Regions from separate parts of the Homo sapiens genome. Here regions 1 and 3 are each linked to region 2. Evidence: promoter capture Hi-C in 16 types of primary human blood cells and fetal thymus (Javierre and others, 2016). All regions are on one chromosome and are shown on one strand. Each heading gives the region's core, a stretch centred on a gene start or on the middle of the fragment in contact. The rest is flanking DNA. Distances are from core to core; before and after follow the strand shown. Region 1 has its middle 47 kb from the start of GLI2. Region 2 holds the start of INHBB (inhibin subunit beta B). Region 3 has its middle 96 kb from the start of GLI2.

Region 1 (2,708 bases), core at 188-2,687, 340 kb after region 2:
TTAGAATGTGTCTAAAAACTATTACTAGAAACATAATGGTAGCTAGGCTTATTGAGTTCTTGTTTTACACCAAACCACATGCTATGGGCTTAACCATCCTTTACTTCTAAGAATTCAATCCGTACTTAGTTAAAGTGATGACCCAGAGGAGGAGGAGGCCATTGGAATTCTCTAGCCATGTGGTGACACCATACCATAAGAATGGGACCATGTTCCCCCTTTAAGGCTGACTTGAAGCAGAGACTTTGCAAGGTTCTATGAGTCTTCCTGTTGCAGGGTCTTCTCCAAGTCAGGCCCTCATGTGACCACCTTACACACAGCATGGGGAAGGGATGTTTCTAATGTACCATTACATCCTCACCCCATCTCCAGACCACCAAAATGTCCTTGACACTAAATTTCGTGTTTGTGGTAGAAGATTCACAGAGCAACTGAATTCCACACTTTATCAATCAGGATTGGTTTCCTTTAGAATATCCAGTTTTGCAAGATTATGGCAGGAGTAGGCTGGGTGCGGTGGCTCAAGCCTGTAATCACAGCACTTCGGGAGGCCGAGGTGGGTGGATCACGAGGTCAGGAGATCGAGACCGTCCTGGTTAACACGGTGAAACCCCATCTCTACTAAAAATACAAAAAATTAGCCGGGCGTGGTGGTGGGCACCTGTAGTCCCAGCTACTTGGGAGGCCGAGGCAGGAGAATGGCGTGGACCTGGGAGGTGGAGCTTGCAGTGAACCAAGATTGTGCCACTGCATTCCAGCCTGGGTGACAAAGCAAGACTCCGTCTCAAAAAAAAAAAAAAAAAAAAAAAAAAAGATTATGGCAGGAGTAGTTCAGACCATATGAAATTGCCATTTTTGCAGATCAACAGTTGAGTATCGATAGTTCCATATAGTTCACCTAAGAGCTACCAGACAAATGTCTGCCCATTCGAGCACTTCTGCCCTCAGGAGTCTGAAACCAGCAGAGAGCAGGGAAGGGACTGATTCGTTATTTTCTTGGTTCACCTCCATGCTCTCTCATTAATTTCACACCTCTCCAGCTGCAACACCTTCATTTCAGCACTCAGGATTAAAATGTGGTGAAGTTAGCATTGTCCCAGGACAGATGGAACTATAATACGTTTCACCAACTACACAGTTAATTTCATGAATTTTGATGGTTCAATCATAAGTCCTACTGCTACGTTTACCACCACTTGGTTGACCAATTGGAGTGTTAGTCCATGGAGGATGGACTGAGGCTGTCTTGGTCACAAGACCCCACCCTACCAGTGCCCACTGTGTTTTATTTTCCTGTCTTCTTTCCCTGGGCTGGGAGTGAAGATATGAAGAGATCTGTAAGGCAGGGACAATAACAACAAGTGAAGCCAATGCGGAAGCAAATTTTAGGAATCTTTGTGGAACCCACACCAGTTCTAAGTCCAATTTTTGAAAATTGAGGGCTTAGAGTCAAGGTAGAAGTCTGGAGGAGAATACTGGCTGCTAACAGGACTGGGTGCTGCCTATGAGCAGAGGCCATGTCTGATTCAGTGCTGGATTGCAGTGGCTAGCACAGGACCTACCACACAACATGGAATCCAGTTTAGTCAATATCAGCTCAACAAATATGGACGGTCTCATGTAATGTTAGATTCCATGATTGTACTAAGAAGGAGGAAAGAAGGAAAGGGCTGGATTTTCAAGCCTCCAGATTTGGATCCTGACTCACATCAGTAAAAAGTCCTGGGTAGAGCCACAGCTTCACGTATAGCTGGATCTGAGTGTACGGGTGCTGTCTGGCACCAGCTCAGATTCTCTCCACCTCTGCCTCTGCTTTTCTCTGAGATGCCTTTGGTGTCAGGCAGACTGTTTTCATGAGGGATGAAGAGGGCCCACAGCATCTCCTGGTTGACACCCCAGCAGCTCAGCAACCCCAGCAGAAAGAAAGCCGCTCCTCCCTAGAGTTCCAGAAAGAGGAAGAGATGTACCAGGAAGCTGAAATAATTGAGGTCCCCCCTGCAGATTTTAAAAAGCAGAAACATAAGTCAATTTCCACTGGAAGCTGGACACATTGATAGTTAAGAAACCCTGCAAACAAATGTGTATTTTTGGTCATGTAAACATAAGTGAGTTAGGAGCCGGGTGCGGTGGTGCACACCTGTAGTCCCAGCTACATGGGAGGCTGAGGGGGGAGGATCTCTTGAGCCCAGGAGTTCCAGGCAAGTCTGGACAACACAATGAGACCCTGTCTCAAAAAAGAAAAAGAAAAAAAACCCTAAGTGACCACAAGACTGGCTGTCCGTGAGAGCGGCTCACTAAGCTCATTTCACTACAGGGTAAGTGCTATGATGGAAATGACGCCAAGGAACTTCACTTACAGTCATCTGAAATGTCAGTCCCTCTTCAGACATTGCCAGCCATTTGGGTTTCCATTTTGGTTGAGGCCACAAAACAAGAGTTATGACCTGGTAAAGGTGAGGTGCAAGAACCCCACGAGGACTTGCAAAGAACGCATATTCAAAAAGCGGTTTAGCGGGAAGTGGAGGTCAGGGAGGAGGGGACGGGGGTTTCCTTGGAAAACGTCACTGGGGTGCTGGCAGCTCTTCTTTTTACCAGAAGTCAAAAACAAGGGATGTTCAGGTGACGACTGGAGAGCTGCAGTTTGGGCACAGTAGGCAGACGTCTGAGTGACACCTGAGGAACAGGAAGGATGAGAGAGGCTGCTGGCT
Region 2 (2,700 bases), core at 8-2,507:
CCGGGAAGCTCGAGCGGGGAGGTACGGACCGTCTCCTCTCGCACGGGCAGGACGACACCCTCCCTCCCCCCCTTTTTTCTGCCAACGTCTATCTCAACGCGCGCGCACATACGGAGATTGTGCGGCTTTTTTCCCCCTTGGGAGAAAAAACGGGGAGAGTAAAAGAAGAGAGACCAAAGAGAAGAACTCCTCCTCGGCGAGCTCCGCACTCCGTGCCGCGGCCCGGCGCGGGGACGCCGCCGCCGCCCGCCCGCTCTCTCCCGGCCCTGCGGCGGGTGCCAGTACGAGCGCGAGCGAGGGCACTGCACCCGGGGACGCTGCGAGACTTTTCGGCGCTCGAGCCGACCTCGCCGCCGCCGCGGCAGGCAGAAGAGACAGGAGCGAGAAGGGCCCTGCCTCCCCCTCGCCTTCCTCGCCCGGCGCCCCGCGCCCGGCCGGGCCGCGCAGGCAGGCGGAGGGAAGGAGGGAGGCTGCGAGGAGGCGGGCGGAGCAGAGGCCCCGGCGAAGCGCGCTGCGGCCGCCCGCCCGTGGATGCGGCGCCCAGGGATCCTGGAGACAACTTTGCCGTGTGACGCGCCGGGAGGACTGCAGGGCCCGCGGCCGAGGGCTCGGCGCCGCCTGTGAGCGGGCCCGCGCGGCCGGCTCTCCCGGGCACCAAGCTTGCTCCGCGCCACTGCCCGCCGGCCCGCGGCGAGGACGACCTGCCCGTCTCCGCCGCCGGCGGCCCTTCCTGGCGCGAGGCAGTGAGGGCGAGGCGCTCAGGTGCGAGCGCGGGGCCCCGCCGCAGCGCCCGCCGCAGCGCCGCGCCAAGCCGCGCCCGGCTCCGCTCCGGGGGGCTCCAGCGCCTTCGCTTCCGTCTCAGCCAAGTTGCGTGGACCCGCTCTTTCGCCACCTTCCCCAGCCGCCGGCCGAACCGCCGCTCCCACTGACGCTGCTTTCGCTTCACCCGAACCGGGGCTGCGGGGCCCCCGACGCGGAAAGGATGGGGAGAAGGCTGCAGATGCCGAGGCGCCCCGAGACGCCCGTGCGGCAGTGACCCGCGACCTCCGCCCCGCCCGGCGCGCCCCTCGGGCCCCCGGGGCCCTCGGCGCCCCTTCCCTGCCGCGCGGGAACCCCCGAGGCCCGGCCGGCCCCCTCCCCCTGCGAGCCGGCGGCAGCCCTCCCGGCGGGCGGGCGGGCGGAGGCCCGGGCGGGCGCGGGCGCGGGCGGGGGCGGGGCGGGGCGGCGCGCCCGGAGCCCGGAGCCCGGCCCTGCGCTCGGCTCGACTCGGCTCGCCTCGCGGCGGGCGCCCTCGTCGCCAGCGGCGCACCATGGACGGGCTGCCCGGTCGGGCGCTGGGGGCCGCCTGCCTTCTGCTGCTGGCGGCCGGCTGGCTGGGGCCTGAGGCCTGGGGCTCACCCACGCCCCCGCCGACGCCTGCCGCGCCGCCGCCACCCCCGCCACCCGGATCCCCGGGTGGCTCGCAGGACACCTGTACGTCGTGCGGCGGCTTCCGGCGGCCAGAGGAGCTCGGCCGAGTGGACGGCGACTTCCTGGAGGCGGTGAAGCGGCACATCTTGAGCCGCCTGCAGATGCGGGGCCGGCCCAACATCACGCACGCCGTGCCTAAGGCCGCCATGGTCACGGCCCTGCGCAAGCTGCACGCGGGCAAGGTGCGCGAGGACGGCCGCGTGGAGATCCCGCACCTCGACGGCCACGCCAGCCCGGGCGCCGACGGCCAGGAGCGCGTTTCCGAAATCATCAGCTTCGCCGAGACAGGTGGGTCCGGCCCTCCGGCTGTCTGCCGCGGTCCCCGCTCGCTCCCGCTCTCCCTCTCCTTGCTAGCTCCGGCTGCCACCGCCGCCACCGCAGCCCGCGCGCCCTGGGGCAGCCTGGACTCCCGGCAGAGCTCCTTCGGCCGTGGCCCTGCGCGCTCCGCCCGGGTTGCAGTCCTCTTCCCCCAGGCCGCAGACCCTTGCCTGCTGCCTCAACCCCCCGCCGCCGATCGCCTGGCCCTCCACCCCTGCTCTCCGGAATCGGGCCCCAGCGCCTCTGGGCGCGCGTCCCCCTCCCGGCAGATGCGCGCGGCCCTGGCTCTGCGGGCACTTGCTTGGTGATTGCTTAATGTTTTTGTTTCCCACGATCGGAGTGTAGGCTTAGCAGTGTGGATGGAGATGTGTGTGCTTGTTGATATACGTGGGCCGGAGGAGAGAGAGAGTGTGTGTGTATCTGTGTGTGTGTCTGTGTGTGTGTGTGCCTGCGTGAGAGGCCCCTGGGGCCGCTTCCATCACCGGCGGCGTGGGCTTGCCAGGATTGCTGAAGCCTCGCTGGGGAGAGCTAGGCAACCTCTCTTCCGATTGTGTGGGCACCGGAATCGGGCGGAAGGCAGGCTTCTCAACAGGTCCATCATTTACACAGAGAAAGCCGCGGTTCGGGGACAGCCCCGTGCCTCTCGGCTTGCCTGGCAGCTGCAGCAGACCCCTCGCCCGAGAGGCAGAGTCGTAGTTAACAAAGGGTATGGCTCCTTTCTGGAATCCGCCCCCCCCCCCGGCCCCAGATTGCAAATCTCTAACACTGTCTAAATATAAAAATCAGGGAGAGAAAAATCTTTCGGAACTTTAAAAGAAGGAGAAAAATGTGCCCGCGCCAAAATGCTGCAAGTGCTTTCGACTCCGCTGTCCTTTTCAGGACTTGAATGAGCCAGGCTGGCTTTTGTGCCTG
Region 3 (2,987 bases), core at 377-2,876, 290 kb after region 2:
CACACTCACACTCACAACAGGGGCCTGCATCTACCCAGCATCCTGGCAGCTTCAGTCAAACCAAGCACACTCAGAGCCCAAATGTGGAGAGAGAAGTGGAACGTAGCTAAGTCCATGACCTAAACTCGGTCAGATCTACTCCAGCAGGTATTTGGGCCTCCTCAGAATCTAGTGACTCTTGGTTAACAGACAGTCATAACTTGCTGCATGTCTTGTTTTCTGGTCTTTCACTTACTGAAAGTTCCAGATTAGAAGTGAGGGGCCAGGCACCGCATGACCACTAGCTGCCTGATGCTTAAGAAAGAGAAGAAATTCCACTAGAAAGCACTTGAGCTCAGTTTAGAAACCATGGACAGTGCACCTACTATGAGCTGGGTGTGCTCCAGGTGGCAAGGCTTTGGCAATGAGAAAGCCAAGGAGGGGTACAGGGCCCAGCGGGAGCCGGAAGAAGTGGGAGGACACTTGGCCTAATCATGAGAAAGCTTTCTTGGAGGAGATGACCCCTGAGCTCAGCCAGGAAGGGTGCATGAGACTGGCCAGATGCTGGAGTGCAAGCAGGTCAAGCAGGGGAATGGTATGGGTGAACGCACAGAGGTGTGACTTAGCACACTTGGGCACGTGATGTACAAGGATAAACATCCTCACATGTTTCCACAGCCCCAGGAGCCTCACCATCCAGGCTGATGACCCCAAGCCAAAAGAGGTGGCCATGTCCAATATGCTCTTTGTGCAGGAAGAAAATTTGTTTGTTCAGACCAAATGAAGGCTTTGACTTATGGAACCCAGAGTACACTGCGTGGGCCGTCTCTTCCCCTCTTGGCATCGGCTGGTAAGAAGCGTAGGAATAAATTTAGCCCTTGACATGAAAGAATGTTTAAGCTTCCTGAAAAATGATCTGTTTTCCTCCTTTTCTTTTTCCTTCTTTATACACCTTTTTAAGATTTTATTGTGTGTATGTTTTTGATAAAAATAAAATCTTAAAAAGGTGTAGAAAGTGTCAGCTAGTTTTACTGAGTGTGTTAAGAAATATTAGTCACCTCCTGTGGAGGCTCATGAACTAAGTCATTATTTTAAAAGCTAGTAAAATAAAATGACAGAATCAAACATTTACCCTGTTTTTCCTATACGACCTGTATCACAATGTAGCCAAATAGATGAGAAGTGTCTTTTTAGAGAAGTATTCTGGATAGGAAATGAAAGCCGAATGATGGAGCATCACCCTCTAGTGAATTAATGAATCTAAGCTCTGATCAATAACTGCTAATATCACAAAATGAAAAACAATCACCCCCAATATGTCTCTTATGGAAGAATATAAGATCCCCTATGATAAAGATCTGCCAAAAAGAGACACCAACGCTGAAACTGATCAAGACTGCACTACAAGACTACGGCAGGTGCAGAGGACAGAGGGAGATGTTAGCCAAGTTCATGGAGACACAATTAGAAATATCCAGCAAAAGGCCGGGCGCGGTGGCTCACGCCTGTAATCCCAGCACTTTGGGAGGCCGAGGCGGGTGGATCACAAGGTCAGGAGATTGAGACCATTCTGGCTAACATGGTGAAACCCCGTCTCTACTAAAAATACAAAAAATTAGTCGGGCATGGTGGCAGACGCCTGTAGTCCCAGCTACTCTGGAGGCTGAAGCAGGAGAATGGCGTGAACCCCGGAGGTGGAGTTTGCAGTGAGCCGAGATCGTGCCACTGCACTCCAGCCTGGGTGACAGAGCAAGACTCCGTCTCAAAAAAAAAAAAAAAAAAAATCCAGCAAAAGCTGTAGGTCAGATGGCCTGTTTCAACAAACAAATAGCTGGCACAGAAGTGGAGAGGGATGCACAAAAGTGAGAATGAGAACTAGAAAGAGAGAGAAAGATCCTTATTTGGATCCTGATTCTTTTTTTTTTTTTTTTTTTTTGAGACGGAGTCTTGCTTTGTCTCCCAGGCTGGAGTGCAGTGGCGCAATCTTGGCTCACTGCAACCTCTGCCTCCCAGGTTCAAGCAATTCTCCTGCCTCAGCCTCCCGAGTAGCTGGGATTACAGGCATGTGCCACCACGCCCAGCTAATTTTTGTATTTTTAGTAGAGACGGGGTTTCACCATGTTGGCCAAGTTGGTCTTGAACTCCTGACCTCAGGTGATCCGCCTGCTCAGTTTCCCAAAGTGCTGGAATTACAGGCATGAGCCACTGCGCCTGGCCCCTGATTTAAGTTCTAACAAACTTTTTAAAAAGGAACATGCATTCAAAAATTGAAATTTTGAACTGACTGGATATTTGACATGAGAGAATTAATATTTTAAAATGTATGCATGATAAAAAAAGAACATACAGACACGACTTAAAGGGTTGACTAGATTTACTGGATTTGCTAAGAAAAGAAGCTTTTCCCAGACCTCTTCCACTACCCTCTCCCTTTCCTTTTTCACTACGTGCTATCATGCCAACCCTTTTAGCTATTTATCTCTCCATCTCTACAAAAAACATGTGAGTATTGCTACTTCCTGATGCTTTCATTCTAGGCATTATCCATTGACCCCAACTCTGGGAGACAAGAAGATGTGAGTTTAGCTCTCCTCATCCCTACATCGCCACCCTTTGTTCCCACCACACACACTTGCCTCTCCCTCAAACTCCCAGCAGAGATTCGTGGGACATTGGTTGGATAAAGATTCACTGTCTATGGTGTTACGGCGATTTGTTCAGAACTGAGCTATATAATAAACTACATTTGCTTTTCCTTCCTGCACATCCCCCCTGCTGCCACCCCAAGAGTTAATAATTATCTTGTTTTGTTTCTTTTCTATGTACTGATCACTAATTCAATACCAAACTCTCCATTGTCTAGCTATCTTTGCATTTGTTCTTTCCCATCAGGTATTCTGTCAATTTTGTCAGCATGGAGAAGACCCTCCCCAAGCCTTCTGACCTGCTGGGTACAAAGCTTCATCCTGCTATCTCTCTTCTCCATAATCTTGGGAAAATCTCTCAGT

Evidence for each region. Contacts are between HindIII fragments. The CHiCAGO score rates a contact against its expected background, and 5 or more counts as called.
Region 1: a fragment that was not itself captured here is called in contact with the fragment with the promoter of INHBB in region 2 in 2 of 17 cell types (M0 macrophages and M1 macrophages); the score reaches 5.7 in M0 macrophages.
Region 3: a fragment that was not itself captured here is called in contact with the fragment with the promoter of INHBB in region 2 in 1 of 17 cell types (endothelial precursors); the score reaches 5.1 in endothelial precursors.

Annotation. Positions count from the first base shown.
Region 1 is chr2:120,687,938-120,690,645 of GRCh38, forward strand. No RefSeq gene overlaps it. Among named protein-coding and RNA genes, the nearest start is that of GLI2, 47 kb to the right of the region's middle. The HindIII fragment of the contact is 5,337 bases long and covers 1-2,708 here.
Region 2 is chr2:120,344,879-120,347,578 of GRCh38, forward strand. INHBB (inhibin subunit beta B) reads left to right here and starts at 1,258. Exons shown (of 2, transcript NM_002193.4): 1 at 1,258-1,758. The coding sequence starts at 1,311. LOC105373989 (putative cuticle collagen 91) reads left to right here. Exons shown (of 3, transcript XM_047446882.1): 3 at 9-1,115. The coding sequence ends at 1,036. The HindIII fragment of the contact is 14,502 bases long and covers 658-2,700 here.
Region 3 is chr2:120,638,149-120,641,135 of GRCh38, forward strand. No RefSeq gene overlaps it. Among named protein-coding and RNA genes, the nearest start is that of GLI2, 96 kb to the right of the region's middle. The HindIII fragment of the contact is 1,499 bases long and covers 878-2,376 here.